Regions from separate parts of the Homo sapiens genome. Here all the other regions are linked to region 1. Evidence: promoter capture Hi-C in 16 types of primary human blood cells and fetal thymus (Javierre and others, 2016). All regions are on one chromosome and are shown on one strand. The core of a region is centred on a gene start or on the middle of the fragment in contact, and the rest is flanking DNA. Distances in the headings are between cores, read along the strand shown. Region 1 holds the start of KAT6B (lysine acetyltransferase 6B). Region 2 overlaps ADK (adenosine kinase). Region 3 overlaps SAMD8 (sterile alpha motif domain containing 8). Region 4 overlaps ADK (adenosine kinase). Region 5 overlaps ADK (adenosine kinase).

Region 1 (5,324 bases), core at 1,174-3,673:
TTTTTTTTTTTTTTAAACCATCACTTCACCACTCCAACCTTTAACTCTCAGTAGAAGTTCTCGGAAAAGAAAAAACATGTGCATTATCCTTTCCTTCTTAAAAACATAAAATACTGTCCAAATTCATTCTGATAAATGTGTAAAGAACTTATGAATGGCCGGGCGCGGTGGCTCACGCCTGTAATCCCAGCACTTTGGGAGGCCGAGGCGGGCAGATCACAAGGTCAAGAGTTCGAGACCATCCTGGCTAACACGGTGAAACCCCGTCTCTACTAAATATACAAAAAATTAGCGGGGCGTGGTGGCAGGCGCCTGTAGTCCCAGCTACTCCGGAGGCTGAGGCAGGACAATGGCGTGAACCCGGGAGGCGGAGCTTGCAGTGAGCCGAGATGGCGCCACTGCACTCCAGCCTGGGCGACAGACTGAGACTCCGTCTCAAAAAAAAAAAAAAAAAAAAAAAGAACTTATGAGTAAGAAAAAAATGGAGTGTTTTATTTCAAGGCTATGCCAAAAAATCTAGGGTATACAAGTAAGACAGGAAGAATGCACTTTAAAAAAAAAAAAACACAAAAAACCTTCTTGGGGCCCCATAGAACTAAGACTGTTCGAACACAACTAATTTCCATTTGCTATTTCCACCTTCTGTCCATATAGGAGGGGCCCTCATATGCTCTACCCTGAATTTCCTTGGTACCTCCAACCCCAAACATACTTGGTTCGTTGGTCTTCATTTCCTATTTCCCACATCTGTAATTCTTTATCACTACCCCTTCACAACTTCTGTCTAACACTCTCTTTAACACGTCCCAACACCTTCTACCAATTACAGGGCTTAAACTCCTTCATGGGGCATAGGACACCATTTGTAATCTAACCCCTCCTCTGCCTTTGCCTGGTCATCTCCTACCACTCCCTGCACTCTGCCCACAGCAAAGTACTAGCAAATTCAAAGCTATGCAAAATGTCCTATCCCAAGGTATGGTGCATGTCTCTTCCTGGGATACCCTGCTGCCGGACACTCCCTTGAAGACTCCAGATCAAGTTTAACATAATGAATCCAGCGTATCACGGGTCGCCATAGCTCACGTCTGTAATCCCATCAGTCAGGCAGAGGTGGGCAGATCACTTGAGGCCAGGAGTTCGAGACCAGCCTGGGCAACATAGTGAGACCCTTTTCTCATTTTTATAAAAAATAATAAATACAGCCTATCAAACAACTTGTCTCCCAAACTAACACCTTTCTCTGCCCCATCCTCACCCCTGGCACAGTCCACCAAATCACATTCACCGAAAATTACTGTACAGCTCCACCCACTTTCTTCACACCTGCCGCCTTGTCCCACCCCTACCAATCCCTTGTCCCCAGGAGATTTTCTGCCACAGATTTTGCAAGTTCTAAGCAGCCTCTCTCCCCTTCCTTCATATTTAAGTTTGCTCTGCTGTCTTAGCATCATCTTTCAGAAACTCTCCCAAGCACAACCATCCCATCCTTCCACGTTTTTAAAAAATACTTCATACCCCAAAGCTAGCAAACCTCCTTCTTATTCCAACATGCGATCCACCCAGATACCTCTTTCCCATCACTGCAATCGTACCTGCTCCTCACATGCGCCTCAATGCCTCCCCAAACCCCTCAACGCCTCCCCAAACCCAACACTCTGCACCGCTTCAACTCTACTCCACATCCACCACACCCAAACCCACCTACTCTGCGCCCAGACAACTGCAATCTCGCCTTCGGTATCATCTCACCTGCCCTCACACACCCCTCGGTCCGCCTTCCACTTCTCTCAAATTGCATCCCTCCCTAACTCTCCCTCTGCACCTGCTTCTACACCTTCAGCTTCTCCTCCCACCCAACCCTCACTAGTCTTCCTCACACCCTCGCCGGCCCCCCACCGCTCCTACCAGTTCACTCCCACTCAGAAATTCCCTCTCAGCCCCCGCCTTCCGACTCCCCGAACCCCGCCCCCACCCGATCCCGCCCCGCCCCCCTCCGCCCTCGAGCCCCGCCCCCTTGCCCTAGAGCCCTGCCGAGGGGCGGGGCCTGTCCCTCCTCCCCTTTCCCCCGCCCCCTACCGTCACGCTCAGGGGCAGCCTGACCCCGAGCGGCCCCGCGGTGACCCTCGCGCAGAGGCCTGTGGGAGGGGCGTCGCAAGCCCCTGAATCCCCCCCCGTCTGTTCCCCCCTCCCGCCCAGTCTCCTCCCCCTGGGAACGCGCGGGGTGGGTGACAGACCTGGCTGCGCGCCACCGCCACCGCGCCTGCCGGGGGCGCTGCCGCTGCCTGAGAAACTGCGGCTGCCGCCTGGAGGAGGTGCCGTCGCCTCCGCCACCGCTGCCGCCGCCGCCAGGGGTAGGAGCTAAGCCGCCGCCATTTTGTGTCCCCCTGTTGTTGTCGTTGACATGAATCCGACATGACACTGATTACAGCCCAATGGAGTCTCATTAAACCCGAGTCGCGGTCCCGCCCCGCCGCTGCTCCATTGGAGGAGACCAAAGACACTTAAGGCCACCCGTTGGCCTACGGGTCTGTCTGTCACCCACTCACTAACCACTCTGCAGCCCATTGGGGCAGGTTCCTGCCGGTCATCTCGCTTCCACATAAACACACCCCTCGACCCATCATCCCCCCCTCCGGCACCACCCCGGGGGAGGGTCCACTGCCAATACCAATCAACAGACCGCTGGGTCCGCCTCTTCCGGGCACCTATTGGTCCAGCCCTTTTTCTCTCTCCTAGATACCGCGCCACCTCTACTTCCACCTACCCGCCCCCTCCACCTCTAGGAAAGGATTGGGTCTACTCGCAGCAGAGGAGCGTAGCCTTATTGGCTGCAGACGACGCCAATCAGGAGGCCTTTTCCCTCTCCCCTCCCCCACTCAACCCCAAACCCCCTAGCCCGCAGCTAAAGTTTGTGTGAGAGCTGATCGCTGGCGGCGGCCGCAGGATTTAGGGGTGGGCGCGGGCGGGCGCGCGCGGGCGGGCACGCGAAGTTAAAATTCGAGGTTCTCAGTCGCCAGCTCCTTCGGTGGAGTGTGCGGACGGGCGCGCCGCCCGGAGCGTTCCATCCCGCCCCCTCCTCCACCCTCTCTCCCGTCCCGTCCCGTCCCGGGCGACTACTCGCCCGCCCCCTGGCTCGCATCCTTCCCCCCCCAACACACCCCTACCCTGCCAGCCCCAGGCCGGGTGCAGGCAGAACGATGTCGCTGCAGCCTCCTCGCCATCCCATGCCTCGGGGGAGCAAGCCCCTACCCACCGGGCGTGCACCCCCCGGCTCCACACTCGCCCGTGTCTGCAAGCACGTGCACCGCTCGCCGCTGCCTCCGGCCACCCGGGTCCCCGGCTAACCTCGCCTGCAGCCCGGCCAATCGCTCGCTGCCCTTTGTTGCTGCAGCCTGGGTCTCCCCGCTGCCTTCCTCAGCCTCCGCCTCGTCCTTTGCCAGCCGCCCGGGTCCGCAGCGCCGCGCTCCCCCCGCCCGGGACCCACCGCCGCCGCCTCCTTCTCCTCCTCCGCCTCCTCCTCCTCGGCTCCGGGCTGCAGCGCACAGAGCCCGAGGCAGCGCCGCCCAGCCCCGCTCCCCCCGCGCCGCCCGCCAGCCCGCCCGGCCTGGCCGGGGGCGCAGCCCGGACCCCGCCCGCCCCAGTCTCCGCCCCGGGGGTACCTGCCTCCGCCCCGGGGGGCTCCTCTCGCCGCCCTCGGGGGAGGGCGGAGACGCTGGTGTCCGCGGGAGGATGGGGACGCCTGGGCCGTTTGGGGCGGGGAGTGTGCCCGCCAGGGCTGGGACTGAGGTGCGGTCCTCGCCAACGCGTCCCCACTCCCGTCGCTGTGGGCCCCAAACTTCGTCCTTCGCCCAGGCTTTGCGCCTTCGGGCGATCGCGGCAGTTTTGGGGTGGGGGACGCCTCGGGAGCTGTGTCTACCCTGATCGGGAGGAAGAGGGAGCAGTGACATTCAGCGACTGCGGACAGGGCACGGCGGCGGCATCCTTGTGTGGGAGTGGGGATGTCAGACGCGGGCTGGAGGGGGAAGCTGCCCCCCAGGATGCTCTCTCCCTGCCTGCGAGGAGCTGGCGAGCTCAGCCGCGTTCTGGGTGCTTTCTTGGGCGGTGCAGGCGGATGGCAGAGGGGCTGAGGCGGGAGGGGGGCGGGGAAGACCGCTGGGGGGCCCTTCCCCCCCTCTCTTTTAGCCAGCGCTGTAAGGAAGGCTGATGGCGAAGTTCGGTTTTCCAGGCTTCCCCTGGGCCCCCCGAGTTCCTGAGGCCCACTTGAGGGAGACTGGGGGCTCCTCTGGCCGCCCAGGCGAGGCCACTCTGACGCTGCCCACATGCCTCCCAGAGCTCTCTGGACTCTGAAGAGAGCGCCCCTGGTTCTTTCCGGAGGTGAATGGGATGCTGGCAAGGGAGACTTCAGAAAATAGGAAAGGTGGGCTGAGAAATGGCTCCTAGAGAGTTTGAGCACGAAGTTTCCCTCCCAGGCGCCATTTCTTTGAGAGGGGGAGGAGAACTATGGCTTTGCAAAAGAACCAAGTTTCAGGCATGGTGGCCTGGGTGGAAAACCACCTGTTGCCTGAAGTCTGTCCCTGGAGTCAGGGCCATCTTGGGCCTGGGCATGGCTATGCCGGGTGCCAGGGAGGGGAGGCCCCAGGCTTCCTGCCCTGGTTGACTCCTGCAGCCTCATGCCACTGACACTGCAGCGGCATCTTCACCTTCCCATTAGAAACCACTGTACAACTAGGTAGGTACTTTGTTAGGACAACTTATCTTCGTCCTTATCTCAGACAAAACAAGCAGCACACGCAGCCCTGTCTTCAAATGCAGACCACAACACACACTTCATTTTTTAAAGATGGTCTGCTGCTTTGGGGTGTGAGCTCCCTCTCCTCCTGAGCTTCTTGGCAGCAAGGTGAGAAAGGAACTTAGACAAAGGGCACAGAGTTGGATGAAAGGATAGAGAAAGGTCGAGGGGGAGCAGAAGAATTGTAATACTACACTACAAACTGTCACCGGTTCCATTATAAACAGTTTTTATAGGTGTTTTATTACTTGGTTGTTAGTTTTTTAAAACACAAACCTCTTTAGATTAAATCTTGGCATTCACAGGCTCAGCCCAGGGAAACAAAACACAGAGAAAACTCCAGCCATCCGCTTGGCTACTTTTGAGTTACATTACTGATAAAACAAACAGCAGGTTGGGTTTCCTCAGACTCTGTCTCAGCCTCGTTTATTTAGTATCTTCAATAGCTTGCTCAAGGCGAATTTTTACAAACCATTAGTTAGTTCATAATTCAGTGTAGTTCACTTAGGTGTTTCGAAGAGAAGGACACTTA
Region 2 (5,419 bases), core at 2,872-5,371, 270 kb after region 1:
ATTTATACAATGTACATGCCTATATTTTTAAATCTATTTCATTTAAAAATGCTGATTTTGTTCCCTAAAGTAAAAGTAAGAATATTATTTACAAAATAACATGGCCCTTTGGAACTCAGATTTAAGAAAGTTCCTTGAGGACATTTTATAATGACTAGAATATACCTATTGTATGTGCTCTATGTTTCAGTCCATCCTTTCACTTATCACACATCCACTATATGCTAGGAACTAGTAACACAGAAGAGATTTTTAAGGGAGATCTAACTGAGATATGGAGGCATGGGTGAAGAAAGAATCTCTGAGAAAATATTTGAGACTTAATAAATTAGTGAGAGTAAGATGGGTGAGTAACACTGAACATGATGTAAAAATAGGTCAAGGCAGAGGGAAGAGCATGTACAAACAGTTTGAGGGGACAGGTGAAAGAGCTCAACTGTCTTAAAAACAGAAAGAAGTCAGGTGTGGAGGTGCAAGCCTATAGTCCCAGCTACTTGAGTGGCTGAGGCAGGAGGACCTCTTTAGCCCAGGAATTCAAGGATGTAGTTGTGCTATAATCATGCCTGAGAATAGCCACCGCACTCCAGCCTGGACAACACAGTGGGATGTCATCTTTAAAAAAAATTAAAAATAAAAAAATCTCAAACTGAAAACAGGCCAGTGTGGCTAGGGAGTATTTAGTAGATTTTGAATTTTGTTCTAAGTGAAAACCAAACCAAAACCAAACCAAAATAAAACAAACACCCATAAGACAACACAACACAAAGAAAAAAAATGGTATTTGTTGATTGTAAAACTGAATACAAAATCCAAATTTAATTTTACCCTCAACCTGGTTCACAAGGACAGTTTAAAAGTTACAGAGTACAACAGCTTGTACTTGACACAAAAAACACTGGTTTTATTTTTTGCCAAAGCAGGCATTTATTGAAAGCACATGTACTATATTAAAAAGGATCCTAAATATTTTTGTGCCAGATTTGATAAGGGACCTAATTTATGTTCTGGCATTTAGCTGGAAGCCTGAATTAGTGATACAGCAACATAGTAAAGACTTGATTTTCTCTGTTCTTTTATATGTATATCATATTCACTTGGTCACTGGCAATTCCTCTTAGTACAAACTGCTAAACTAATTTGAAGCAAAGGTTAAAAGTTAGGACAAGGAGAGTAAGACTATCCTTGAAGGAAATATGTAAACTGCTAATCAGTGAAAGTGTTTGCACCCATCCCAATATACTCTTGAATCCATCCCCAAATCAGAAGCTTCTTTGCTTTTCTACTAGCTCCAGTTACCCTAGTTCTGTAGCAAGACTCAGACTCCTAGTCTTCTCATCATCTCTTTCCTTCCCCATATATACTTATTTTTAAAGAGGTCCTTACTCCTTTAAAAATGCCATGTGGTCTTATTTATTTAAAAGGCATTTATTAAGCATCTACTATGTGTTAGGCAGTGGGTCATGAAGAAAAAAACATGACTAATGTCCTTCTACTTCCCCTGTAACTATGTTTTCCACAGTAATGTTGGTGTTTCCCTGTCTCACTTTTCTACTAGATTGTCATGCTCACCACTCTATCAAGAGAAGTGCTTGGTACATAGCAGGCATTTAAATATTTTTTGAATTAAGAAATGACTTTTAGGGACCTAGAGAAGGCGAGAAGGTTGTATACGTGCTCAAGAGCACCAGATATAGACAGTTAAGAATACAATCTCACAATCAAATTTCACTTAAATGTAACTCTAGACCGTCATATTAGTTGGTAAACTCTAGGAATCCATTATAGAAAATTACAAGGCAAAGTTAGGTGAGCCCTTTGAAAGAGAGCTTAGGCTTTCCCTGAGCTGAGGGACTCTAAACAGCTTATGCCCATGGGTTTCTAGCCTGCTTTCCTCTTGACTGGGCTTTGGACTCGCTTAGCCAGCCTCCATACTTCCATCATCCAATTCCTTGTAACAAATCTCTAAATCTATATTGTCTACTGGTTCTGCTTCTCTGGTTTAACATGGACTCATATAATGATGTTATAAACAGTGAACATCTTAAAATATTGTAACTATTTGTATTGAAAGTACTCATCAATTTCAATGAAATGAATAGATTCAGGGATTAGGAACACATACATTAGACAAATAAAGTTTACTTTTAAATAAATGTAGGTTATATTGATGCCTGATCAAGACAGATAAAGTCTACATTTAAATAAATGAACGGTTATCTTGATGCCTGATCCCTTGATTCATATTCTTCATCATCTTCCCTCACCTCAGACTCCTAGTCTTTTCATTGTGTCTTTCCTTCCCTATCCAAAACAAATGAACAAAGAATCTTAGCCTATCACACTGTGCTATCAGGTTTGACAACATCTAGCAGGCTAAAATTTCCAGGAGGTACTTCTCTTTAATAACGGTGAAAGCTTTAACAAGAAGGAGTAACTGGTGGAATAAGCAAGAAAATAAATATATTCTGGCAGACAGATTCACAAACTCACAGATGACCACTTACTCCATTTGACTAGTAAAACTGGCCACTCTCAGTTTTTTGGATGATTTCATTTTGCATTCTAGGAATGACTGCAGCCAAAGCTCTTCGACCAGTAACATGTCCTCAGCAGATAATACTGCTCACAGAAGAGACTGACAATTTTGTTGTTCTGTTTTGTTTTGGTTTGGAGAGGGGGGTCTTTACATATTGTTGAGCAATTATCATTTGTTTTATTATTTACCTTTGGATGTACTTATGCCAAACATTCCAAACTAGATTATGAGCTCTTTAAAAATAGGATAATAGCTCGCACCTTAAAAAAATCCTACCACCTCTCTCTTTCTCTTGCAAGAGCTTAGCAATAAAAACAGGTACCCAATAAACATTTACTGATTTTGTAATTTGTAGAACAGTATGTAGAATGAGGCCAACTGTGATTTGGCTTTTATCTAAAGGAATTTTTTCTGTTGGGTGAAATGCTACTAGCTATGCTTCTCAATACTATAACTTGGAAAAATGTACACATTTTAGCCACAAAACTAATATTTATAAATATAAGGACACATAAAAGACTAAATTAACAAAATTTTAGGAAGGAACAAACTGTTACATGTTTTTACTATTGCTGTACATGTTACATGCTACTATGACTTTACAGCAATATTCAGAATTAGCTGCTAATCATCCTAGAGAATTTGGTCTGCTGCTACGCTAAAGCATCATTGTTGCAAATAAGATTCTTCTTAGATTGTACAGTCAGCAATGACCCATCATCTAAGATACTTGGTACACTAGGACTCAAATGATTAGCTTCTGTAAGTGAATGAATGCATAAATTAGACCCATATGAAACACATCATCTGATATTACTAAATAAGGTAAAGGCTAGAAGGGATAAAGGACAAGACTAACAAATATGACTAAATACTAATAGAAAAAGTTCCATATACAAAAAAAGCACCGAAAATAAAATCAACAGACAGGCTGGGTATGGTGGCTCATGCCTGCAATCCCAGAACTTTGGGAGGCCAAGGAGGGAGGATCACTTGAGCTCAGGAGATTGAGACTAGTCTGGGCAACATAGGTCCTTTTTCTACAAAAAAATTTTTTAAAAAAATTATCTGGGCATGGTGGTGCGCACTTGTAGTCCCAGCTACTCAGGAGCCTGTGGCCAGAGGGCTGCAAGGTTGAGGCTACAGTGAGCTGTGATCATGCCATTGCACTCCAGCCTGCACGACAAAGCAAGATCCTGTCTCAAAAAAAAAGTCAATGGACAAACTGCAAGAAGTATTTACAAGTAAGGATTTATTTCCCAAATACAAAGGAAAAAGAAAAAAAAAAACAACATGAAAAAACTTAGTTGGAAAAATTGAACCAACCAAAAGAAAAAGAAAGCTAGGCAAACAAGGAGTTAAGAGAAGAGGAAAATATAAATGCACTATAATATGAAAAGATATAGAATTACAACATTACCTCTAAAACTGCAAATTGAAACAATAAAATACCATTTTAAATATATCAGTTTGGCAAAGCTTAAAAAGACATTTAAACAGAGAATATGATTTGGTAGAATCCCCTGAAGGGGCAGTTTGGTAAAATGTATCAAAAGTTAAATTTTCCTTTACTAAGAATTGGCAGTTCAATTCTGGAGATTGAGCCTATAGAACTATTTACACAAAAGTACATAAGACATATTACTACAGAACTATAATAACAAAAACCCAGAAAACAACATAAAAGCTTTCAATAGAAGAATAAACAATGATGTATTCATATAATACCACTCTTATACAAAATAAGGCAGATAGATAAGTTTGTACTACTAGGAAAAGAGATCTAGCTATTTTATGTGAGAAGATACAAAACAGAATTAAAGTATGATTTCATTAAAATGAGTGTTTTGGCCATCAGGTCCTAGTGCTGCTGGCTCCGCCTGGTCCCCACAACCCAGGTTGCGTGTAGTCTGCCATGCCTGGGCAGCTGGGCCAAGGAATGGAGGTCAGTGGATGAACAGCGTCAGGGAGCAGTGCTGACACACAGCAGGGTGGCAACTGCAGGCCCCCACAACACCAGCTTCCAGGGAAGCCCAGAGCATGAGGCTGCAGGCCTGAGAGGGAAGAAGCCAGACTGCCATGGTGTGAAGGTATGCAGACTGTGACATCCTATTGGGTTCAGGGAATGCATGGGACCTATGAGGCTTGAGTTCTGGATCATGAAAATCAAACATTCAAATGTTTCAGCTTCTGTTTACTTCAAAGCCTAAAGTTAGTCCTAAGTCTTCCTGAGACAGATGAGGGAGGAACCCTTGTCTCTGAAGCATCAGAAGTCCAGCCCGGCCTCACTAGGGTAAAATCAAGGTGCATGCAGGGTTGATTTCTTTTGAAGCTCCAAGGGATAATCTTTTCTTGCCTTTCTAGCTTCCAGAAGTGCCTGCATCCTTTGGCTCATGGCCCATCCCCACTTCAAAGCCAGCCAAATTACTTTTCAGAAACCAAGTGTATTAGCCTGTTTTCACACTGCCATAAATAACTACCGGAGACTGGGTAACTTAAAAAGAAAAGAGGTTTAGTTGACTCATAGTTCCACATGACTGGGGAGGCCTCAGGAAACTTATAATCATGGCTGAAGGTGAAGGAGAAGCAAGGTGCATCTTACACAGTGGTAGGAGAGACAGAGAGCACGAGCAGGAAACTGCCACACACTTTTAAACTATCAGATCTTGAGAGAATTTACTCCTGTCATGAGAACAGCATGGGGAAAACTGCCCCCATGATCCAAGCACCTCTCGCCAGGTCCTTCCTCCAACATGCCAGCATACCCACCAGATAGAAAATGATGAGCTGGGCACAGTGGCATGTGCCTGTAGTCCTAGCTACTCAGGAGGTTGAGGCAGGAGGATTGCCTGAGGCCAGGAGTTCGAGACTGCAGTGAGCTAT
Region 3 (5,489 bases), core at 1,921-4,420, 290 kb before region 1:
ACTTTGTGATTAATAACTCTGTAGTTTATAGTATTTGGGATTATCCAACTTTTTTCCATACTATTTTAAAATTTTTACCATAAATGAAAACATTTTCATTCAGCAAACAAAAACTACTCTTTTCTCTTTATACTTATAGAAAGATATTTTTCTTTTTCTTTTTTGAGACGGAGTCTTGCTCTGTCGCCCAGGCTGGAATGCAGCGGCGTGATCTCAGCCCACTGCAGCCTCTGCCTCCCAGGTTCAAACAATTCTCCTGCCTCTGCCTCCCAAGTAGCTGGGACTATAGGGGCACACCACCACACCTGGCTAATTTTTATATTTTTAGTAGAGACAGCATTTCACCATGCTGGCCAGGCTGGTCTCGAACTCTGATCTCAAGTGATCTGCCTGCCTCACCCTCCCAAAGTGCTGGGATTACAGGCGCAAGCCACTGTGCCCAGCCTATTTTGCATTTTCTTAGCAAGCACAGGGTATTGTTTCCAAAACATCGATAAAATCTGCAATAATTACAAAACAGTTTCAAAGACCTTGCACTAACTCCTACCATCCATTTTGAAACTCTTTAGTGGTGATTTTCTGTTTTGTTATGTCCCACTTCTGAGCAGTAGAATTTAGGGCAGCATCTTTAAAAGAATTAAATTCCCTCCTCAGTTACATCATCATTCTCTTGGCTGCACTTCAGTTCTTGGACTTTTTTGCTGCTCTAACCGTGAACTCTTATAATTTCACTCAAAAAAAGTTGTCATATATACCAAATAACATCTTTTTCTGGTTCCAAATAGCCTTTAAACTAACTTCTACTATCAGGCTGCACCAAGTTATCTACACCAAATCCAGAACTGTCTCCCCTCAATGAGTAAGAATCTGACAGATATTACCGTCCATTTTATATTCTCAGTTATACCAAAAATTTTTCCACGATGATAGGACTTTGGTGATAAATTTGGTAAAGGGTTCCTGACCTGGCTGCAATGCCACAGCAAACCAGTAAAGAAGCTAAGTATCTAAAATTCTAATTTTTATTCTAACCAGGCTAGCAGTTTAACATATCAATTTGGTAAAATCTTTTTTGTTTGTTTGTTTGTTTGAGAAAGCATTTCACTCTTGTAGCCCAGGCTGGAGTATAATGGCGCAATCTCGGCTCACTGCAACCTCTGCCTCCTGGGATCAAGCAATTCTCCTGCCTCAGCCTCCCAAGCAGCTGGGATTACAGGTACGTGCCACCACGCCCAGCTAATTTTTTTGTACTTTTAGCAGAGAAAAGGTTTCACCATGTTGGCCAGGGTGGTCTTGAACTCCTGACCTCAAGTAAGCCACCCACCTTGGCCTCCCAAAGTGCTAGGATTACAGGTGTGAGCCATCACGCCCACCCTTTTTTTTTTTTAAGATAGGGCCTCACTCTTTACCCAGGCTGGAGTGCAGTGGCGCAATCACAGCTTACTGCAGCTTTGACCTCCTGGGCTCAGGTGATCCTCCCACCTCAGCCTCCTGAGTTCTGGGACTATAGGTGCACACCACCACACCCGGCTAATTTTTGTATTTTTAGTAGAGACGAGGTCTCACTATGTTGCTCAGGCTGGTCTCAAACTCCTGGGCTCAAGGGATCCACCCACCTCAGCTTCCCAAAGTGCTGGGATTACATGCATGAGTCACCCCACCCAGCTGGTAAAATCTTTATTTTTAAATATGCTACACTGGCAGGCTGCGGTGGTTCACGCCTGTAAACCCAACTTTGGGAGGCCAAGGGGGGTGGATGCCTTGAGCCGAGGAGTTCAAAACCAGCCTGAGCAACATAGTGAGACCTCGTCTCTACTAAAAACACAAAAAATTAGCCGAGCATGGTGGCACGCGCCTGTAATCCCAGCTACTGGGGAGGCTGAGGTGGGAGAATTGCTTGAACCCGGGAGGCGAAGGTTGCTATGAACTGACATCACGCCACTGCACCAGGCTTCGGCAACGAAGTGAGACTCTGTCTCTAAATAAATAAATAAATATGCTACATCCAAAATCTAATCAATATAATGGAAAATGAGAAACTGGCTCAAGACTTCAAACTCCATTAAATATTGTGAAAATGGATTGGATTTGCAGCCAAATTTTAATGTATGGTTTTGGAAATCTCTGGCTTTCATGCTAATATTATATTGATGGAACTGACATCAATTCCATTTAATCTCAAAGTTCCAAACTAAAACAGATTTGCAAGTATTTCCAAAAACTCAGTGACACCAGTTAACCTATAGGAAGGCCCTAAATTAGCAGAATCCATGGTTCTCACCTCCAACTAGAATTTATCTGTCAAAAATTTCAAGACAACAGAACAAGTATCAAGATAACAGATACTCATGTTACTACCTCTTGTCCTCTGCCACAACTCATAAGCTTAACTAAATGCACTTCAAAAATTTAAGACACTCACACCTGTAATCCTAGCACTTTGGGAGGCTGAGGTGGGAGGACTGCTCGAGGCCAGGAGCTCTAAACCAGCCTGGTCAACATAGCTGATACCCCATCTCTACAAAAGAAAAATTTAAAAAAATTAGCCAGGTGTGGTGGCACACGCCTATAGTCCCAGCTACTCAGAAAGCTGAGGCAGGAGGACTGCTTGAGCCCAGGAGTTCAAGGCTGCATAAGCCATGATCGCGCCACTGTATTCCAGCCTGGGAGACAGTGAGACCCTATCTTTAAAAAAAAAAAACTACCAAAAAATACTTAGACAAATATAAATATAATTCACTGCCCTGCCCCACAACACTCTTTTCTGAGGTACATATCATAAAACATTGTTTTATGGTGAAACACTGTGGTGAAACTATTATAACCAAGTTTTTCTTAGTTAATAGTCTTTTTTTTTTTTTTTTTTTGAGACGGAGTCTCGCTCTGTTGCCCAGGCTGGAGTGCAGTGGTGTGATCTCCGCTCACTGCAAGCTCCGCCTCTCGGGTTCATGCCATTCTCCTGCCTCAGCCTCCTGAGTAGCTGGGACTACAGGCGCCTGCCACGAGGCCCGGCTAATTTTTTTGTATTTTTAGTAGAGACGGGGTTTCACCGTGTTCGCCAGGATGGTCTCGATCTCCTGGCCTCGTGATCCGCCCGCCTCGGCCTCCCAAAGTGCTGAGATTACAGGCGTGAGCCACCGTGCCCGCAGTATGTTACATTCTATAGTATTGTGAGGACCCAATAACAGAACATTTCAATACGGAAACATGAAGTCACTGAACTCAGCTAAAGGTTAGGCTTCAGATCTGTGATGATGGTACTGTGTGTATGGGAGGAGGGGGTTCAGGAATATTCACATCACAGGTCTGTTACAAATCCATACCCACACATTCATATGGCAAATTACCAGGAAGCAACAGCGGTAGCATGTAAACACCAATCTGTTTTCCCAGTGTGCCTGGCCCATGCTCTCCTATTTTTAGTTAACATCTTGATTTCTCAAGGCCAAGAAAACCACAAGACCTAAAGTAAGCATCACTGTCCTGATGATATCTGTTGTCAAATGGCTTTCTCTGTTCTTGCCCTACTATTAACCCCTCAATGTGTTACATCATACCCTTAGAGCAAAACAAAAACAAGAACAAAAACTGGTTCCAAAAGAATTCCCAAAATCACATGTAAGCAAGTATTAAAGATACGGCATTTTGCAAATAAGTAACTCTTTATTTGTAAACAAATATAAATACATGAGACGTGAAAATAATCAAGGCTCTCCCCTGTCATCTCTGCAAATAAGTAAAACATTTAATCTAATCTGGGAATGAAATAGTATAGTCCTCCTCTATAACCTAAATCCCTTAAAAGAATTTTGATTAGCTCATACTGTATTTTTTCACCAAATACCACAATCATTCAAAAGAGCTTCATAGGTAATTTAGCAGAATATGCAATTGTATTCATATCTCGTATAAATCAGTTTGATGTCCAAAGAGAATCAAAGCTACAGAAGCTTTAAAATTAAAAAGTGAATTCAATCTTAGTTCATTAACAATCCACTGGCATATGAAAAATGAAGGGGGTAGAATCTGAAGACAGGAAAGATTTCCATCCATAAATTAACGGGCATGCTAGGTACACCCAACAATTAACACCATATATTACATCAGGCCTGGAAGTAAAAATCTTGAAAGAATAGCTTGTTAACATGGCATTCTTATAAAACAATAATAATACTATTCATGGAAACATCTGTGATTTAAGTTTCTCAAAAAAAGTGTTCAAATTTCAATTCTTAGAAAAGCCATGAAAATGTCTTAATCAGTAACAGCAAAGTTTTGAAGAAGTATTGAGGATCTAATGATTAACAAAATAAAAAAATGTTTATAAGCAACTGTGCAATGTGAATAAGCTTTTGCAGAAGGGGGGTTATGGTACTGAAATCAAAACTGATTTACCTAAATATGTCTGCATATTCTGCCATCGCAGTCATGATGGCTTCTTCTGCCTTAGAGAAACCGATTTTTTTTTTTTTTTTGAGACATATCACTCTGTTGCCCAGGCTGGAGTGCAGTGGTGTGATCTCAGCTCACAACCTCTGCTTCCCGGGTTCAAGAGATTCTCCTGCCTCAGCCTCCTGAGTAGCTGGGATTACAGGTGTGAGCCACCACACCTGATTAATTCTTTTTATAGTATTAGTAGAGATGGGGTTTTGCCATGTTGGCCAAGCTGGTCTTGAACTCCTGACCTCAAGTGATCTGCCTGCTTCGGCCTCCTAAAGTGGTGGGATTACAGGAGTAAGCCACCACACCTAGCCAAAAACTGATTTTCTTTATTCAATGGGTGTGAGAACTGACAAAGGGAAACAAAAATTAAAAAACTATTAGACATGCTAATATGTTAATTGTACAACTCCATCTAACAGTTTCTCTTTAATTTTGCAATAACATTAAGCTGTAATCTTAATAGAGTTCTTATATTGCAGTTCAGCAAATTTTTACATGCCATGACTTTTATTCACAACTAAGTATGAAGATAAGGTCTCCAGAGGATCTCACTCTAAAGATAAAACCAACAAACAGTAATATTACATAAACTTCAACTGAAGATAATTTGTATTAAGTTAAAGAAAAGGGAATTAATACTTTAACAATCTCAGCATTTTTAGCTAAGAATTCACATATCCTTTGAAGAAACAATTACTATTCCACTGTGCATCTGAGGGTATGTCACATAGCCCATACACATAAACTAATTTAAAAGCTGTTGCAAATCAAATTATCATCTCATGAAGATTAAACAGTAGATATCCATTTAGATTTAATCAAGCATTTAGAAAACGCTTGATGCTAACAAAAATTAGCCAGCCATGGTGGCGCCCACCTGCAGTCCCAGCTACTCCCAGCTACTTGGGAGGCTGAGGTGGGAGGATCACTTAAGCCTGGGCAACACAGCGAATCTCTGTCTCAAAAAAAAAAAAGAAAGGAAAGAAAAGAAAAGAAGGAAGAGAAAAGAAATGGCCAACAACTTTACAAACCTATAATCACATAAA
Region 4 (5,430 bases), core at 1,597-4,096, 360 kb after region 1:
AAAAGTTTTTGGGATATTGGAAGTTATGACAGAAACAAATATACAGTAAAACTATAAAACAACATCATTCCATGAATTGTGTATAGATTCTTATTTTATTTTTTTAAAGACATGGTCTCGCTGTATCACCAAGGCTGGAGTGCAGAGTCATGACTGTGGCTCCCTGCAACCTCGACCTTCCAGGCTCAAGTGATCCTCTTGATCCTCTTGCTTCAGCCTCCCAAGTAGCTGGGACCAAAGATGCATGCCACCATGTCCAGGTAATTTTTTTTTTTAAATTAATAGAGATGGGGGTCTCCCTATGTTGCCCAGGCTGGTCTTGAACTCCTGGGCTCAAATGTTCCTTTTGCCTCAGACTCTCAAGGTATTGTGATTACAGGCATGAGCCACTGTGCTCAGCTAGATTCTTAGAACAAACCTTGAGCACACTCACATGATATCCTTACAAAGATGAAAATTTCTAGAAACTTGAACACAAAGGATATAGACAAAGTTGAGTATCATGTATACGGTATGTCTTATGTGTACTGCTGTAATTTTTCTTGGTGGCCACTGTTTATTTGTAAAAAGACTATACGTATATAGTTTTGGAAAAACACAAGTAACATGTGTACAGGAATCTCTGAGTGTCTATAAGAATACCTCAATTCATATTAGTCATAAAATCAAGAGTACTTTCCAATTCAGTAAATTTCCTGTTAATAAGTTTTGCTTAGGACATTTCTCTTACATTTAGGCTCTGTATGTTTTCAAATAACAATCTAATTTCTTTCTAATAACATTTCCTTGCACCTTATTAATTATATTTACACCTTACCTATTCCCTTACAAGGATTAAGGCAGTTTAGAAAGACGTAAAAAAAAGACAAGATACCATGACAAAAATTTGGTGGTAAAGACGACGAATCTGCACAAGACAAGTTTGTTTTTAGCCTCCTAACAATGAGAAAAAAGAAAAAAGAAATTCAATGACACAATTAGAATTGTATAAAACAAGGGTCCCCAACCCCTCAGACATGGACGGATACAAATCCATGGCCTGTTAGGAACTGGGCCACACAGCAGGAGGTGAGTGCCAGATGTGCAAGTGAAGCTTCATCTGTATTTACAGCCACTCCTCATTGCTCAAATTACTGTCTGACCTCCACCTCCTGTCAGATAACTGGCGGCATTAGATTCTCATTAGAGTGCGAACCCTATTGTGAATTGTGCATGTGAGGGATCTAGCTTATGTGCTCCTTATGAGAATCTAGTGCCTGATGATCTGTCACTGACTCCCATCACCCCCAGATGGGACTGTCTAGTTGCAGGAAAACAAGTTCAGAGCTCCCACTGATTCTACATTATGGTGAGTTGTATAATTATTTCATTATATATTATACTGTAATAATAACAGAAATAAAGTGCACGACAAATGCAATGCACTTGAATAATCCTGAAACCACCCCTCCCCCACCCTGCCCTGTGGAAAATGATCTTCCACGAAACAGTCCTTGGTGCCAAAAAGGTTGGGGACCCCCAGTATAAAACACTGGTGAATCTAATAAATAGTAAAGATTTTTTATTTTAAAACTAGAAAAAAAATAAAATAATCACTTATTAGATAGCAATTTCTCAAGAACTTTAGCTTATTTTTCCATATTTACTGATAAAATTTGAGTCATCACAATGTTGGAATTCCAGGAGACAGGCTTGAGACCTTCATAAAGCCTAAATCCCTAAAGTCTGGACATGCTAAAACTTTCATGTTTATTCTAAATTTTATATGAGAGTCATCTTTATGTGTATCTCTAAATTTAATCAATAGCCTATCCTTAATATAGATTTCTGTCCTCATTTAGAGGGTATTTTTCATAAAAAGCCCAAGTTCTTATCATTCCAGAGGGTAACTGTTTATTTGATAAGTTGTAGGTAACAACAAACACATGTCACATTGGACGCTAGATAGTTAACAAGAATAATTCACTACCTAACATCACAGCAAATATGAGTTAAAGTATGCTAAATTTTTGAATGCCAAGAGACTATCTTGTTCTTTCATTTTGAAGCTGATGATTCCACTGTGACTAAACTGTAAGACTCTACCTGATGGTCAAAACACAAAAATTCTATGGATTTTAAAAACCAGATATGAAATATATATCTTATTGAATCACTTTCAGAAATTTCAGTAGTGAGTTCTAGGAGAAAATGTGGCTTGTGTACACACACACACATATACACACAAATATTTCAAAATACTTTCTATACTTTTTTTCTCTGTAGGTTGATTTACAAAATTTTAGAAAATTTCCTAAAATATACTCTTAGAAAGAGGTTTTAGTTTTCCTGGGAGTACCAAAATATAAAGTTTTTTTCTTAATACTCCGTATAACTTCTAATTTTTCTAAATTTTTCCATGTTCCCTATAATAGGTCAATAATTCAGAGAAACTATCTAATATAAAAATCTATTAATGATATTATAAAACTATCCTAAGCAATGTTTTAAATTTACTGCTGCTTAGGACATGGTGCTCTGGTATAAAAACAAAACAACAAACAAGAAAGACATACAAAAAGACTGCTCTCAAAACCTGCAAGGAATTTGTATAAGATTTAAAACAGACATATGCTTTTAAAGAACTTTTGAATGCAATAGTTAATGCACATAATAACTCAACAACCAACATAGATTCAAAGCTCTAACAGATACCATATGCAACCTGTAATAGAACCTGAGTCAAGATATTTCAGGCAACAGGATAATTTCATTTTCCATTTTAAATATCCACTTATTTTTAGTTAACTGGCCATAACATAGCACATGAAAATGCTGTCATTATTGTATAACAAAACTCTAGTACAGATAAGATATTTCATTACTAGTCAAGAAACTAAAATTTGGGGAGCACTATTACAAAAATGTTTTTCTATGTTTACTACAGAAGATATGCATACTGAATTTACCATTAGTTCTATAAAGTCTAGTACCTGTAAAGATAAATCTAGCTTAGGAAGTAGGTGAAACAGTAGGAGAGTTATACTTAGCCTACAAAATGTATGAATTCCAAACCATCAATTATATTAAATATCTACTATGTGGAAAGCTCTACGTCAGTTATAAAGGAAATAAATGTTTGTAAGATGTAATGCTATTGTAGTGGAAATACAACATATTAGTATTAGTACTGAGATAGGGAAGGATCAGAGATGTATCTAACATAAGTCACATTTCAAATCAGAATGAAACAATTAATTGAAATGCAAATACTATTACCAGGCTTTTTTCCTTGCCAAAATAATCAAACCCTTTGTTCTGACAATTATAACAGTATTAGGCTACACAAGCCATTCAGACTAGTAAGGTAAGAAAGTTTTAAGATGGAAGCAATGTGCAGATAAAATCAGATGTTAGCTGAGTAAAGCAAGAACTATATTTATTGCTTTCTGCTAACGTTTTTGAGACAAAGGAACAAATGTCTAGCAGCTGAACCAAGACAAGTTAGGGACTTAAATGGCATTGTTTAAAAAAAAAAAATTCTATTTCCGGTTTCTTAAGTTTATAGTTGGTTTACTCTAAGGACTTGCTCTAAGTATTCCTTACTTTAATCACAGAAGATGTCCTGTAAATTTAAGAACAGAAAACTGGCAACCTCCATTAGCAGTATTTCAATATTACAACAGTGTCTTTTATTAGAAAACTCAGTACTCCCTATTCATTCATCTGCTAGACAGAACTTCCTGGCTAACAGTCCATAGTGATGACATAATTTCTGACAGAGACATTCTGAATAAAATGGAGACTACCAGGACTAATCATTATAGCTTTACTTTAAACATTTTCTTAAGCTATTTGTAATTCATGAATAAAAGAAGCACTTTACTAGAACACATCTATCGTATGCTGTCATCCTAAAAGGAAAACTTCAGAGGAGAGGACACAAACAAAAACAACCTTTCAAGTCTCATATTTGTTAAGGACAATCTTACATATACTACAGTTAAATGCAGTATTTAAATTGTCATGGTAGGGGGTCAAGGTAAATAGGATAATCTGGCCCCAGAGAGACAAAATCATTTACATTGAATATAAAATCATAACTGAATTATTAGAAAAAGCTAAGTATCCTTCAATAGGAATCTCTCCATCATTTGAATTGTAAAAAATTAATGAAGTTAATATACACCTGAAAAATGACAATCTTTTTATATTCATACAAGGTATTACAAGCAATAATACTACACATGTGTGTGTAATAAAAAATAAAATCCACAAATTGAACATGTCTGAAATCTCACAGTTGCAGAATAGCAGGCTCATAAGCACAAGAAATGACCCCCAACTCTGCAACCCAAATGAAGATAATTTGTGTTTGTCTGTGTCATTAGGATAACACAGTTTATGTCAAGAGGATGTTTTGGTATACAGAGAAATCACAACAAGAAGTTTTTGTTTATTTTTGATTTCAAAAATGTCTTACCTATCTAGGGTACTATTGGGAGAATAACGCTCAAAGCACGCTCAATAGCAGGTGCCCTTTTGCCGTTAGGGTGAAGAAACAGTTTCACATCTTGGAGCCGAGAAACAGTTGGATAGCCAGAGACAGAAACAAGCTTCCAAACCCAAATCACTTTCTAATTTGAAATTTGAAAATAAAGTATAATGGCTCCTACTTCTTAAAGTGTGAGTATAATTATAGGGAGAAATACCCTTACAGGGAAGCAAAAAAACAAAGAAGTGATCACAGGCTTGGGTTGGGGTGGGAACACATTTGGATACTTTTTTCTTTTTTAACTCATTGGGAGACAGGAAAGAACCAATAAAAGTTGGCATGGCAATTAAGCAAGGAAAAAAAATAATGCCTTATTTTAGCAGTAAAAATGTTTGACTTTTGACTACAGAGAGCCTGATTTTTTTCTTTTTTCTCCTTTCTTTTTTTTCTTTTTTTTTTTTTTTGAGATGGAGTCTTGCTCTATTGCCAGGCTGGAGTGCAGTGGCACCATCTAGGCTTACTGCAATCTCTGCCTCCCTGGTTCAAGCGATTTTCCTGCCTCAGCCTCCCGAGCAGGTGGGACTACAGGCGTGTGCTACCACGCCCAGGTAATTTTTGTATTTTTAGTAGAGACGAGGTTTCACCATGTTGGCCAGGATGGTCTCGATCTCTTGACCTCGTGATCTGCCCACCTCAGCCTCCCAAAGTGCTGGGATTACAGACATGAGCCACCGCACCCGGCTGAGCCTAACTTTTTATACTAATATTTACCAAACTGTGTCCTGCTGAACTCTAATGTCCTCTGAAATGTAAAAAGGTGTTCTAGGAAAAACCCACATTAAAGAAATCTGTTAAATTTTTGCATATTCTTACATTTTCCAACTGATTGGAAATAAATTTTTTTTTTTTTTGAGATGAGGTCTCGTTCTGTTGCCCAGGCTGGAGTGCAATGGTGT
Region 5 (5,532 bases), core at 2,515-5,014, 340 kb after region 1:
TTATGGTAGAGAAATTTGAAAATATAATGTTATGATCAAAGGGTAACATCATCAGCAATAGGATAAAACAGGTATCATGTACCTCCTAATATGGTACATGAAGGATAGGTCATATCCATAGTATTTTATGAAAAGGCATAACCTAAATCTAATCATAAGGAAACATAAAAAAAACTTAAGGTACATTCTACAAAATAAGCAGCCTATACTTTTCAAAAATATCAAAGTCATGAAAGATAAAGTCAGATGTGTTAACGTCACATCATTCATTGCCCAATCATGAAAATTTGTCAGTACTTGCAAATAGCTAAGTCCTCTGTTATTTAACCTTTTACTATTTATCTGTTTTGGTTAGCATCCTTTATGTCACATTTATTGCCTTTATAACAGTCCATGAGCTTATTCTGTTTTCTTCTTCTGTCTCTTTTCTTTTCTTTCTTTTTTTTAAGAGACAGAGTCTTATTATGTTGCCCAGGTCAGACTCGAACTCTTGGGCTCAAGTGATCCTCCCTCCTCAGCCTCCCAAATAGCTAGGACTACCAGCAGTTTCTAGAGATGACAACTAAATGTAACATGTGATCTTGGATTCAACCTAAGAATAAAATAATTTTTCTTTTGCCATGAAGGGTATTAGTGGTATAACTGAAAAAATTTGAATAAGATCTCTAGATAAGACAGTAATACTTTATCCATGTTAATTTCCTGTTTTGGATAAATATACTGTGGTTATGTAACAAAACGTGAATTTTTACTAACCACACCTCAAGTATTTAGAGGTTAAAGAGGCATTATTTTTGCAACTTACTCTCAAACGACTCAGGAAAAAAACTCTACATACATACATACAATAGCTGTGGTAAATATTAACATATGGGAATTCATTAAACTAGTTTTGCTATTTTTCTACAATTATTTCAAAGTTAAAATTAAAAAAACTAAAACAACTCTGAGACTTGTCTTGCCCACATTCAAAAGGTAAAGTAGTAGAACTGAGATTCATACATGTTTTCCCCAACTCCATAGCCCCATACTCCTAACCACAATAACACTACCATTTATAGTTTCTATCGGGGGGGAAAGCAACACACACACACAAATTCAAAGAATTTAAATAAGTAAACCTACACTCCCACTTATCTACTTAGTTACCAAAGATAAATTGAAAATGAAAGGTCATTCATCAAATTATTGGTAAGACAAACCAAAATATAGTCAATTGCTATGAAGATATAACAAAATTTAGCTGCTCTCTATTGGTTTATGTCACAAATTACTACAGCTTTCTTTAAAATACAGAGTAAAAGGCCAGGAGGTCAAGTATTTTAAAGTAAATCATTCAGTGGAGAAATTTCTTTAAAGACTAGATAAAGCAAGTGTGGCAAAATCTTAGTAATTATTGAATCTCAGTAATGGGTAGATGGGGTTCATTACATCGCTTTTGCTACTTGAAAACTTTCATAATAAAATAAAAATTAAAGCCGAACATAGTGACATATCCCTGTAGTCCCAGCTGCTTGAGAGGCTGACGCAGGAGGATTGCTTGGATCTAAAAGTTCAAGTCCAGCTTGGGCAACCTAGTGAGATCCTGACTCAAAGTAAAGTAAAATAAAAAATAATAAATTGTAAGGAAATGGGATGCACCAAGTGAAGATCCTTTATTCACTCAACAAACACTCACTGAGTATCTTCCACCTATAAGACACTGTGAAAAAAGGCACTGTATAGCTTATGTGGTAGTGTTTTTTTGTGTGTCCATTTTAAGCTGATCCGGTATTTAATATTTAATCGACAAATGGCTGTATATAAAACCTAACTATTAGAATTCTATAGGGCTAGTATTTTAGGTGGCTGATCAATGTACTACATTTTTTGAGAATAAAAAGACACATTAAACCCCAGAGAGAAGTACATAATTATTTTTATAAATAACAAGAAAAAGTTAAAATAATCACAGATCCATGAGTACAAATCTGATCTAACACGTGGTACCTAAACATGGACACCATTATTTCCAACCTGAGAAGCCATCTGTGAGTTACTATGGGGAAAAAAAATCAATACAATTTTCAAACTAGAGGAAGCTTCTGCAAACATCTTGTTCAATTCTACCAGGAACAAATTAGGACAAAGATCAGCTGACTGGCTTGTCCGAGGGTAAAAACAAAAACAAAACACTTTGTTATCAGGCAGAGACGAACGGTATTGAAGTATTTGGACTTTGGGCCACTTTCCTTTAGGAGACCTACAATGAGACATGGGTTCAAAAAGTTTTTTTCTCTTATTTACTAGCACTATGGAAATAACCATAACTAGTAAAGCTTAATATAGGCTCCTAAACTCTGTTCTAATTGTGGCAACTTATTCTGGGAGAACATATACTAAAAAGTGATACAGTATTTCTGTTACCCTCTACATATAGAGAATGTAAAAAGACAAAAGACTGCATTTGTAACTACACTTTTCTTCTATATAATTACATTTTTGGTTGTTGGTAAATCCTTGGCAATATTCTGTGGGTTTAACATCGTTCTACATTATCATTAATTGCATAACACATTACCATATGTTGGACCTATTCAAAGTTAGTATATAGGTATTTTTACAAAAAGACATTGATAAAAATCAGTATCACAATGAATACATAAAGAAGTTTTTATTTCCTCAAACATTTTAATCTAATTTTGAAAATCTTTTCTAAAACATTTTAAAAACATGCTTATTTTCTTCCTTATTGAAATTCAGATGTCATGGATTTGGGAAGAAAGAATAAAGGGAAGGAATTTTAAAGCATATAGATTATGACTGGAACCATGGTTCATTTTCAGAAATATTGGTTACATGCTCCAATGCTTTCAAATGATGGGCTCAAACACTATTAAAGATAAAACGGATATATGCTATTTGTGATTTTTAAAAAATCATAGAAACTCTACTTATTTCACATGATTTTAAAGAATCTCTTAAGAGAGCATTGCAAATCCAATTATATTATTCCTACTTACACAAGTTTTTTTCTTCCCCATGGACATTTAATGATTTCAGGAACTAGATATAATAATGTGTCCTAGGTCTTTAAAAATCTGTGCATTCTATTTTAACTGCAGAAAATATAAATTGGTTTAATTTTGTGAGTTATCATTAAGTAGTTTTGTACAGAACTTAAGTTGAGCCATATTATTCCAGTTGGAATAGTAAAAAAAAAAAATTATGACATCCTGCTTTGTATCTGGAACAATAATAGCAGCATTTTCAGGACTAGGTATGTCTGTCTGAAAGAATGCCTTAGGAAACAGAATGCTAGCACACACAGGATACAGGGGGAAAATAAGTTCTTAAAATCAGAATTTAATTGAAATGCAAACATTTCAAAGACTTTTTTTCACATATGTACATACACACATAAATGGTCTAGTCCACTGTGTATACTACATGCATCTGTATCCTTGTTCAAGTCATTGAGCTGTTATTCTATCTGGGAATGTCTCCTTTCCTCACTTCTCTATGTTCTATCCAAACTACATGACATTCCTTTATTTATCCAAATGTCCTGAATTTCTCTAGATAGTATTATTTTGACACTTATATAATCTCTGACAGGTATATTTTTATGTGTGAGGCTGACATTTCCCTTCTACATTGGAGAACTTATTATCTGATTGAAAAGAAGATGAAGCATATAAGCAGAGTGTTCCATATGAACTTTCTTTTAATATAAAAGGCATAATTACCTTGCTTGTGAGTAAAACATCTTCACTACTCAAAGCCTGTCCAGTCTTGTATGCTTACTCATATTTCCTCAGCAAAGATCCACATAATAAGTAGGTATAATTTTTAGAAAATTACTATGTACTTGGCTCTTTCCTAAGTGCTCCAAATATATTAATTCATTTAAGCATTACTACAATCCTAAGAAACTGGTATGTATTATTATTATCCTGTTGAATATTTGAGGAGAATGAGGCACAGATATCTCAAATTACTTGTCCAAGATCACAAAGGTGGTAAGTTGTGGGATCAGGGTTGGAATCTGGACAATCTCAATAGAGCGCCTCTAAGATTAGCTACTCAATCTCATCACCTAAATGTTCAATATATAGCTGTTGAAAAAAGCTAAACATGAAATCCCACAGAGATCAATTAAATGTCTTTAATGTCGTAAAAGTCCAGTTTTCATTAGCATTTAGAGATGAAATGGAAAAACAATTTAGATGTCTCCATTTCTGACATCTGAAATTTAGAAAAGTTTTCTTTAATCCTGCTATCTACATAAATATGATTTTCTGAAGGAAAAAAACTCACAAAAGCTATAAAAAGTTTATCTAGTGTGCTAATTTGTTATTATCATACTTTAAACATATTTTCCCTTAAGGTTTTTCAAATTTCATCTTGAAACCAAGCCTATAGAAAAAATTGAGAGTAGTACAAATGAACACTCCTATGCTATTTACGTATATGTATCAATTAGAACATATTCTTTACACACACACACACACACACACACACACACACGTCTTTTTTCCCCTCAAACCACTGGAAAATAAGTTGCAGACATTATGACCCTATTATGATACATACTGACCAAGGAGATTTTCCTATATAAGCACAAAATGTGGCAGTGATGTAGTATTATCTAATATATAGTCAAGGATCTAATACTACATTTGCTTAAGTCTCTTTAGTCTCCCTTAATCTGAAAGTCTCCTTCCATTCTCCTTACTGTCTTTCATGACAGTGGCATTTTTGAAGAGTCCAGGCCGTTGTCTTGTAGAAATGTTCCACAGTGAAGATATGTCTGAACTTTATGATTAGACTCAGTTAAGTATCTTAGGCAAGAAAGTATACAGACAATGTTTCATACTTCTCATTACATGCCATTTGGACACACATTAAGTCATTATTAGTTAGGATGCTACACTGAATCACTTGGTGAGGGTGGATTATGTCTCCTTCTTAAAAGATTAAATAGAATGACTATAAGTACTGATTGGTTGAAAACATATGATTTTTAGATAAGCCAAATAATGCAGGCTTCAGTATGCTGTTTTTAACTGTTCTAACATTTTTTCTAATTTTCTATTGGCATTTCCCTTATTTTCATTATTTAAAGCCTGATACTTTGCATCTTGGGAGACAGTACAATACTGTGATGTCTTCCCCAAAAGCTCCGATGGAAAGCTGAATACAATATTCTGTTTTGATAAGCAAGCTTTGTGACTTATTTATCCTATATTAAATGTGGTATTTAAGAATAAGTTTAAAAAGACAGTGGGAAGTTTCTACAGGTTACACAATTTCAGGATGTTGAGAAAAATATTACTAAATTCGTTCTCAAAATAAGATGGGTTAAAAAAAAAATAGCCAAAAAATAAACTGGCAAATTCTACCATCCTCATCTCAATTTTAAAGTGCCCAGAAAAAAAACAAAATGAAATATTTCATAAAATAAATAATAAAGATTTTAAGACTGTAACTCTTAAAATCTGTTTAATAAAACATTAAAGCTTTTTCTGTTTAATAAAACATTAATGTAAG

The links. The method cuts DNA at HindIII sites, captures the fragments that hold promoters and counts their contacts. A CHiCAGO score of 5 or more calls a contact.
Region 2: a fragment that was not itself captured here is called in contact with the fragment with the promoter of KAT6B in region 1 in 2 of 17 cell types (total CD8 T cells and total CD4 T cells); the score reaches 6.0 in total CD8 T cells.
Region 3: a contact is called between a fragment that was not itself captured here and the fragment with the promoter of KAT6B in region 1, in 1 of 17 cell types (neutrophils). The highest score is 6.0, in neutrophils.
Region 4: a fragment that was not itself captured here is called in contact with the fragment with the promoter of KAT6B in region 1 in 1 of 17 cell types (total CD4 T cells); the score reaches 5.5 in total CD4 T cells.
Region 5: a fragment that was not itself captured here is called in contact with the fragment with the promoter of KAT6B in region 1 in 6 of 17 cell types (total CD4 T cells, total CD8 T cells, naive CD8 T cells and 3 more); the score reaches 8.3 in total CD4 T cells.

Annotation. Positions count from the first base shown.
Region 1 is chr10:74,823,699-74,829,022 of GRCh38, reverse strand. It overlaps KAT6B (lysine acetyltransferase 6B), which reads right to left and starts at 2,423. Exons shown (of 18, transcript NM_012330.4): 1 at 2,238-2,423. RefSeq lists silencers at 1,958-2,357, 3,048-3,247, 3,358-3,457, 3,568-3,737, 4,248-4,297 and enhancers at 2,573-3,344, 3,345-4,116. The HindIII fragment of the contact is 8,590 bases long and covers 1-5,324 here.
Region 2 is chr10:74,558,265-74,563,683 of GRCh38, reverse strand. All of the region lies in intron 7 of ADK (adenosine kinase), which reads right to left. Among named protein-coding and RNA genes, the nearest start is that of ADK-AS1, 32 kb to the right of the region's middle. The HindIII fragment of the contact is 208 bases long and covers 4,018-4,225 here.
Region 3 is chr10:75,113,319-75,118,807 of GRCh38, reverse strand. All of the region lies in intron 1 of SAMD8 (sterile alpha motif domain containing 8), which reads right to left. Among named protein-coding and RNA genes, the nearest start is that of SAMD8, 4.4 kb to the right of the region's middle. The HindIII fragment of the contact is 1,565 bases long and covers 2,388-3,952 here.
Region 4 is chr10:74,459,236-74,464,665 of GRCh38, reverse strand. The region is part of intron 6 of ADK (adenosine kinase); the gene reads right to left. Among named protein-coding and RNA genes, the nearest start is that of ADK-AS1, 67 kb to the left of the region's middle. The HindIII fragment of the contact is 3,502 bases long and covers 1,096-4,597 here.
Region 5 is chr10:74,487,352-74,492,883 of GRCh38, reverse strand. The region is part of intron 6 of ADK (adenosine kinase); the gene reads right to left. Among named protein-coding and RNA genes, the nearest start is that of ADK-AS1, 39 kb to the left of the region's middle. The HindIII fragment of the contact is 2,888 bases long and covers 2,321-5,208 here.